Regions from separate parts of the Homo sapiens genome. Here region 1 is linked to region 2. The links are contacts of gene promoters, found by promoter capture Hi-C in blood cells and fetal thymus (Javierre and others, 2016). All regions are on one chromosome and are shown on one strand. Each heading gives the region's core, a stretch centred on a gene start or on the middle of the fragment in contact. The rest is flanking DNA. Distances are from core to core; before and after follow the strand shown. Region 1 has its middle 10 kb from the start of TIFAB. Region 2 holds the start of TRPC7-AS1 (TRPC7 antisense RNA 1).

The links. The method cuts DNA at HindIII sites, captures the fragments that hold promoters and counts their contacts. A CHiCAGO score of 5 or more calls a contact.
Region 1: a contact is called between a fragment that was not itself captured here and the fragment with the promoter of TRPC7-AS1 in region 2, in 3 of 17 cell types (naive B cells, total B cells and total CD8 T cells). The highest score is 8.0, in naive B cells.

What each region holds. Positions count from the first base shown.
Region 1 is chr5:135,460,485-135,464,440 of GRCh38, forward strand. No RefSeq gene overlaps it. Among named protein-coding and RNA genes, the nearest start is that of TIFAB, 10 kb to the left of the region's middle. The HindIII fragment of the contact is 2,656 bases long and covers 640-3,295 here.
Region 2 is chr5:136,211,487-136,215,964 of GRCh38, forward strand. It overlaps TRPC7-AS1 (TRPC7 antisense RNA 1), which reads left to right and starts at 2,562. Exons shown (of 2, transcript NR_046708.1): 1 at 2,562-2,937. TRPC7 (transient receptor potential cation channel subfamily C member 7) reads right to left here. Exons shown (of 12, transcript NM_020389.3): 12 at 1,259-2,118. The coding sequence ends at 1,949. The HindIII fragment of the contact is 8,916 bases long and covers 806-4,478 here.

The DNA of each region.
Region 1 (3,956 bases), core at 718-3,217, 750 kb before region 2:
CAAGCGTGGAGCACATCCTTTCCTTCGGAAGATGCGTCCTGGAAATTGCCCAATCACTTCTGCTTGCATCCTGTTGGCTGGTCTCAGGGAATGGCTAGTCCTAGCTGTCAGGGTGCCTGGGAGCTGTGTGATCAATGACAAAAGGAGGGTTCTATTATTATAGGAGAAGGGGAAATAGATATTGAAAGACAACAGGGTCTCCTTTTCCCAGCCGAACTGCAAACTCTTCAAGGGTTGGAAAGACTTCTCAAGCTTGCACCTCACCCTGTTGGGCTCCCCGGCTGCAGATTTGTTCACTGAGAGAGACTGATTGCTGAGCCGGCTCCACAGAACTGCTGCACTGAGAAGTGCCATGGTCAGCCCTCCACGTTCTCAGAGTGCAGAACAAAAGCCAAGAGCCAAGGACAGCAGCATGGGGCTGGGGTGTTGCTGTGGGGAAGACAGCCCTGAGAGAGAGGACTGGGAGCTGGAGAAGCAGATAAGCAGCAATTGGAGCATAGCTGATGGACAACCTTTGGATACACAGAAAGGGATGGCTAGAGGGAGGAAATTTAGTTTTTGAGATTTTTAAAATTTTTACATCAAAATATGCTCTGAATGTTTTAGTTCTCTTCAATGATTGAGCCTTCCAAAATGAAAAGCTTTGTTTTATTTTTATATCCCATTTTGAAAAGGTAACATATTCACATAGTTCACTTTTTTTTTTTTTTTTCAAAATAAAAAGTAGAGAGGAAAGTCTCTCTCACACTCCTCCCCACAGGTAACTGCTGTAATGGTGTCCTGTGTATCCTTCCAGAGAGTCTTGATGCGAGTACAAGCACACATGAATCTATATTCCAGCCACCCCACTCTGTTCCCAGCACTGTCTGCTGCCTTGCTTTGTGAAGGTATCCTTAAGGCCAGCAGCTCCCATTCTCCCCAGCAGTTTCTCACTTTTAACAGTTTTCTCCCTGTCCTGTGATATTTCACAAAACGAACCCAAGCCATGACAATAAATATTTCATACCTTTCGTGCATGACATGTTTCACATATGCTTTACAAACGTGCGTTTTCATTCGGAATCGAATGTTGAGGGAAATATGTCTTTTCCACATGGCCACTACCATAATATAAAAAGCATTTTCCTCCTCCCTCTGCCCCAGGGGGGATCTATATCATGAAAATGGAAAAGTGATGAGAAAATGAGCAATCCTGCCTACAGAGCTCTCTCCAAGTAGTTTTCCAGAAGCTCCCTGGGACTGCATCACCTCATGAGCCATAAATCACCAACTGGGCCTGGGCAACTTGTCACCCAGTGGTTCACTTAGTGACTTTGGCTGTTTCTTTTTGTTGGCCATTTACCTGAAGGGTGTCTGCTGTGTACGTGTTGGGAACCTACCTCAGAACCTGTCATTGGTGTTTGGCCTTTAGCTGTCTGCCTGCAATTGGCTGGCCATGGCATGGGATGGGCACATACTTTCCTATGGGCCCATCTGCAGTAAGAAGTGGCTTGTAGAGCTGCAGAGGTTCTAACTGAGGCTCAGGGCCATCGTGGCTCAGCCATTTGCAGGTAAGTTCTACTGCTGATGGGATTGCCACAGACCATGGAATGCCTCCAACACCTTTAAATCAAGCCTGGGGGCTCTCAGCTCAACCTTGGCAAGCCTTAATGTGTCTTCAGTGTAAGCCATGATCTGGTCCTCCTGGAAACAGGGAACCCTGGCACGAATGCTAGGGCCAGTGCTTGATAAATGCCACCCTTAATCTGCCTTCCTTTCCCCCCCATCCCCTACCCACTCCTGCTCGCCAACCCCAACACACCCAAATGTTGTTGGCAAGTATGACTTGGAGAACCAGATTTTTCCCTAGTCTCTTCTCTCAGATAACTTTCTAAAACCTCCCAGGCCCTACTCTAAGAAGGTATGTCATTATGAGTGCTAGGGGGCACTGTTGGGCAACTTTTGTGCACAGGAAATTGCCTGCTTGTGTGTTTTCAGAGGACGCGACGCTCGGTGGGGACAGCTGTCCCCACCCTCAGGCAGCTCTCAGGGACTCGGCATAGTTGCTCCCCCTGCAGGGCTAGAGCTACCTCCATGTCACCTCTTCAAGGCTGAAGGCTCTTGGAGGAATTAACTCTGCCCACCTCAGCTCAGGTGGAGAGCTGCCCTGCGAGATGTGAGTAGGGCTGCCTTTCCCTCCTCCCTTTCTCAGTCTTTAATTGACAACTGCTTGGCCTGGATGATTTTTTAGATAGGAGCTGAGGTGCCCCCCACCCCCGCCTTCCAACAACAGCACCCAGGAAAATCAAGGACACAACTTTTTATTCAATTCTGGTATTTGTTCTCATTGTTGGAATGATGAATGTCACAACTCTATTATTTGTTGGAAGTGTTTGTTGCAGACGTGCAGCTGCATCGGAATTCAACTGAATTCTGATGTTTTCACTTGGGAGAATCGAATTCCCCCATGGATCCTGCAGGGAAAGTGGTCCTAATGTTCAGGACAGGCACCCCAATCAAGCTAGGAGCCACCTGGATTTGGTGCCTTCTGCCTCAGTGGGTCCCTGTCCGCAAAGAAGAAACTAGCAGCTACTATGGGCCACACAGTGTGGTATTGTATACATTTTGTCCAAGTTGTCAACATTTTAAAATTGGAAGCCTGGAAATAAAACCCTCAATTTTTGCAGCTTCAGCTGAAAAGTCAGGAGATGAGGCTGGCCTGGGCTCGGGTTCCTGCAGGGCACTCGTCTGCTGGTGCAGACGCTTGGCGCTCCATCCCAGTTTGCCTCAGTTCCCCCAGTCCTGTTTCGTATATATTTATTTTATGTTCTAGGCTCCTGTAAGCCTTTGAGTTTGCAATCCTTTTGTGAGGTGTGGTAAACCCTAGTTAGCCAAAATGTAATTTTTTCCTTAGGACATGAGCCCCCGCAGAACCAAATAACAGAAATCACCATGAAGGAGCCAAAGTCTACACGTGAGTTGGGGCATGGGGCAGATAGCCTGGGTGGCTGGTGTTAGTTCCAGACAGACTGGAGTGCTCAGGGTCTCTCTATTGGGGCAAATCTCTCTGCTCCATCTTCATGTGGCCTTCTTCTCCGAGTGTGAAATCTCCCACCACCTTCCTGTGATGAGGATACTGTCGTTGTATTTAGGGTCAATCCAGATAATCTAGGGAAATCTCCCCATCTCAAGATCCTTAATTTGATCCCATCTTTTGCCACATGAGGTGACAGTCACAGGTTCCAGGGTTTAGGAAGTGGGTGTGTCTTTGGGGCCACTACTAAGCCTATCACGTTTGGCAAGCCTTCCTTCAGGAAGCTTGCATTCTAGAGACAGTCTGGAAAGGAAGGAGGAAACGAATAGGAATGGTGAGCATGTAGCTGCGGTGGGGGATGACTGTGCATTCAGAAACCCCCCCTGGGGAGATTCTGGTTCATCAGAGGCTGAAGGGAGTAAGGCAGCAGGCCGAGAGGTCCTGAGTGCAAATGCCCTGAAGCAGCAGCCTTGGTTAGACAGGGAACTGCCTGCAAGCGAAGGGAAGAGCAGTAACAGAGAGATGGCTGGAAACCAGGTGGGGTTAGATAGTCCTTGCAGGGCCTTTTAGATTCTGGTAGAGGGTTTGGATTCTATTCCAAGACAATAAAGGAGCTGTTGAAGGATGTCGGCTGTCGTGGGATGTGAGCCACTGAGGATGGTGCCTGAGATGGGGCAAGGCTAACAGATGCCCCTTACTCAGAGATCACCCCTTAGAGAGGTAGGGGTGGAATGGGAGGCTGCCTCTCTGGTGCACTATTGCCTGGCTACAGGCTTTGCTGGCCCCAGGTGCCCCTTTCGCTGGGCGCCTCCCGTGCTCCAGCCATGCTGCGAAAACTCAACACCCACATTTGTAACAGGGTGTTCTAGCCAAGATGGGACTCCAGCATTTTTGAAATCTCAGATCCTGTGCTTTTACCTTTAAGCTAAAGGTGAAGCTTTAA
Region 2 (4,478 bases), core at 1,312-3,811:
AAGCACACAGCCTGAAGGGCACCTTAGGACTTGCAGGCTCTTTGAAATCCATCCATGGTCCTCTATGGATCCTCCTCCTGGGCCAGAGTTTATGTCTGTCAAGTGCCCCTGCATATGCAGTATGCCCAGTACCTGTCAAATGCCTGTTTCTGTCTTGCTTGAATACTAGGTGGTGGTGCAGATTGGGTTGGGAAGGCCCAGGCATGGAGCCATGTCTCATCTTCTGCTGCCTATCTTGGCGGCCAGGAGCCCAACAAATGTTGACTTTTTCTTTTTTTCAGCAGTTGGGAAGATGTGGCAAAACAGGACTTATATTCCTTATGGCAACGATGGGCTGAGCTGAGTGTCTGCAGCCTGCTTTAGGCAGGGCACGGCTGTGCAGTCTGTCATCGTCCCTCGTCACTCCCATCAATGCTGGCACCAACCTCACTTCTATTTATCGCCTCATCTGATCGGCTGTTTCTTATAGCAGAGTTAAGTAAAAAAAATGTTTGCCCCTGAAGACAAAGACGTATGTCTTGAAACACAAGCTCCCTCTTTCTACATATACATACATATATACATTTACACATACACACATGCATATATATATATATATATAATTATTATATATTTATCTTCCCCCCTCTAGAACGTCTGCAAGGCATGTGAATTTGTAACCATCACCCTCCTCACAGGGTTGCTGTGAGGATCCGGTGGACTGATGCATGCAAAGCCCCGAGCACAGTGCCTGGTACACGGCAAAAGCTGAATACTTCTGGCCAGCCCTAGGAATATTTCCTTGGGAGCAGAGGGCTCTTCTGGAAGCTTCTGGAAGATGAATGGCATCTTCGCACACCTGCTCCGAACAGGCATTGTTTGGGACTCAGCGCCCTCTGGTGGCTGCTCTCCCCACTCACACTTAGCCTCTTCCTTGGTTGGGGGGACACTTTGAGGCCTCATTCCTGCCCCTCCCCTTCCTTTCACATGGAGGAAAGTTCTAGAATGGGGTGGGAGAAAACTTTCCACTTGTTCTGCATTTCCTTTACCTCCTTCCTGACCTTAGGTCTGGGCACAGGAGGAGGGGCTTGGAGGTGGAGGCTGGAGCTTCTGGGGGTCCTGGCTGCATGACTCTAAGGAGGGTGGTGCCTTCGTCCCCACCCAACCCCCACCGCATCGGCCCATTCTCCTCCCGAAGCATCCCTGGGCCACAGGTTCCCAAGGCCACCTCCAGACTGGGCCCGCGAGTGGGGCGGCCCTGGTAGCGTATCCACAGAAGTTATTATGAGGTAATTTTATTTCTTTCCATTTTAGGTAAAAATAGTAAATACAAGATAATCTTAATAAAGGTAAAAATACATCATTTGGATTTTGTTGTTGTTTTCTAAACAGTGCTACCTACAGTACAGTTTTCAATTTAGGATTTTTAAACTTTTTTTTTATATAAACAAATAGAACTATTTTGCTATTAGGCTGTGTTCTCATCTGGCACTTAAGAATAGATCACAGGTCACCTCCTGGTTCTGTTTGGATGTGTTGGGGGTGGCAGGGAGGGAGTGAGAAGGAGTTTGTGGGTTGAGGTGTTTGTCTTCCCAGGACACAGCCAGAGCTGCAGTCCCACCTGCAGTGGGAGGGCACAGGTGTGCACCCAAGATGGCCTTTTCCTGCTCTGGCCACAGGGATGGGTTTCACTGTGGCTGGACCAAAGGTCTCACACTCGTCAGGGGGCTGTTCCTCCCCTCCTCCCATGGTAGCTTTTCTTACCCAACCACCTAGATTCACAGCAGTTCTGGGTCTAGGCAGGCCAGCGGGCTGGAGATGTCAGTCATGCTGCAAGAGACTGAGCCAGGAGATCCCCTTCGTGTCCTAGAGGAGTGGGCTGGGGACCCCTCCCCACCAAGGATGGGGGCGAGGGCATCCAACCTGGCCTTGGAATGCTGGTAGAAGTCACAGACGCCGATGTGGGCTGCTAAATGTCTTTGCCCTTGTTCACCCTCAGGTGGTCTTTGTTTAAGTTCTTTCCAAACTTCTCGCTGAGTTGTTGAATCAGGTCTGCCAGCTCACCAGTAGCTTGAGATTTTTCCTCAAGAAGCTCATAGCGCAGGCTGGAGATATCTTGCTTGATTTCCTTCAGCTCGCCTGCAAGGACAGAGGAGATTTTGCTGAGTCTGAGTAGGTGGAAGCTCGGGGCTTGTCCCATGCACATGTGGGCATGTGCATCCTTCCAGTGGAATGTCGGGTCCTGGGCCAGCCCACCAGGGTTGAAGGTGAGGCAAGGGGGGCTCTATTTGAACCCAGAACCACCCAGCTCCCCCACCACTGAAGGACACATCGATCCATAGAAAGCCCTTCTCCTCCCATTCCAGGAAAACCTTTCCCTTAGGGGTTTGAAGGAGGAGTCAAGATCAGGGCTGTGAATTGTGTCTAGCACTTGTTTCATAAAATACTTGTTAGAAAGTTTGTTTCAGAGTCACTAAAGGCAGATTTCAAGACTCTGGAAAACAACCCCATTAACCAGAGCATTGCTTTTGATGATGCTATGTTTTGTTCTGTCATTGTTATTTGTAGGGAGGAGAAACTCCCAGGAGCCTGGAGAGAATGGCTCGGCACAGCAGATGCAGCCGTGGTGGCCATGGAGCTGACCAGCCTCTTGGGAGTGAGCTGGCCACCTGAGCACGGTCCACTCAGCCCACACAAGCAGCAGCACCACCTCGCTGACAGGAGCTTCGTCAATGCCTGCCGCCTCCTCCTTCCATAACGAGGGACCACCTAGCAGGGACTTTCACTTTTATTTCCACAGAGAACCTTGTGGTTAGAAGTCCAATGGGTCTAGGCTGTGGGAATCTTCTTATTAACCACAAACAGATGTCAAAAGGATCTTTCCTAATACTGTAGATACTGCACTTGGCTCGTGTGGGAGTCCACTGTCTGTGGAAACATTACTCGTCTATTTTTCAGGTATGGTCTATACACATAAAAGGCAGAGATCTTAAAGGTACAGTTTGATCCATTTTGACAAATGGATACACCCCCTGTTTTTATCAGATGCTTCACTGAGCCCCCGTTTCATGGTGTAATTTAAGTGCCATGACACCTGGATACCCCCACCTTCTATGATCAGTGATATTCACATGAATCAGTTACATACTGCTTGAGGCTGGCTGGCCTGACACTTGGCCATTGTTTGAGACCTACAAGTAGGTAGGTGGGCTGTTGTCTGCCCCTAAACCATGTCAGCTCAGGGGCAGTTCAGTTATGGCTGAGCTTCGAGCTGCATGCTGGGTGCCCCAGGATGAAGCAGAGGGTCACCCAATGACCAGGCTCTTTCTGTAGTTCCCTGTGGCCCAAGCTAGGAGAACAGAAACTTCAATCATGGATGAGGCTGTTTCTAGGTGGCAAATATTTGTCATAAGTATCTCATTAATTACCTGGCATAAAGTAATTTGCTTTTCATCTAAGAGTAACTGCTTAAAATAGACTGGAAAACAACCCAAACAGTGAAAATAATATAGTTGGTAAACTTCAGTGTATATCAGAGACCCTTGGTGCAGTTTTCCAAAAGCAGATCCCCAGACCCCACTCCAGAGATGCTGATTCATTAGGTCTGGGTGGGGTCTGGGATCTGTAGTTTTAACAGCTAGTTCTGAGGTGGGGAACACTTTGAGAAACACGGCTGTCAGTTAGATGCTGAGAACCTCCCACTGAGACTGGACAGGGCCAGTTAGAAGCAAGCGGCGGCAGACCCTAAACGCAGTGTGCATCTGCTCAGTGGATGTGCACCATGGAATGAAGTACAGCATTGGAATTCTGAACCATCCTGCACTCAAGAGGCATGAGGTTGGCTCAAGGCTGCCATTGCTGTGGGAGGCAGAGGAATGTCCCCTACTCCCAAGATGTCCCCGTCCTGATCCCTGATGTTCTGCCTGTGGGAAACATGACTGTTTCTCCTCAAAGGGGAACTGAGGTGGCAAATAGAATTCAGGTTGCTGATCAGCTGCCCTTAACAGAAGGAGATTATTCTGGATTGTCCTGGTGGAACCAATTCAATCACATGAGTCCTTAAAAGTGGAGGAGGGGCCGGGCGCAGTGGCTCATGCCTGTAATCCCAACACTTTGGGAGGCTGAGATGGGCGGATCACAAGGTCAGGAGTTCGAGACCAGCCTGACCAACATGGTAAAACCCCATCTCTACTAAAAAAATACAAAAATTAGCTGGGCGTGGTGGCACACACCTGTGATCCCAGCTACTCAGGAGGCTGAGGCAGGAGAATCACTTGAACCCAGGAGGCAGAGGTTGCAGTGGGCCGAGATTGTGCCGTTGCACTCCAGCCTGGGCAACAGAGTGAGACTCCATCTCAAAAAAAAAAAAAAAAATGGTGGAGGAGGAAGGCAGAAGAGTGGGGTCAGAGATGGGACAATGGAAGATGAGGCAGGGCAAATGGAGTGTGAGGGTGCCTGATGCCTGCTGCCAGCTCTGAGGTGGTGGGGCTGTATGCACA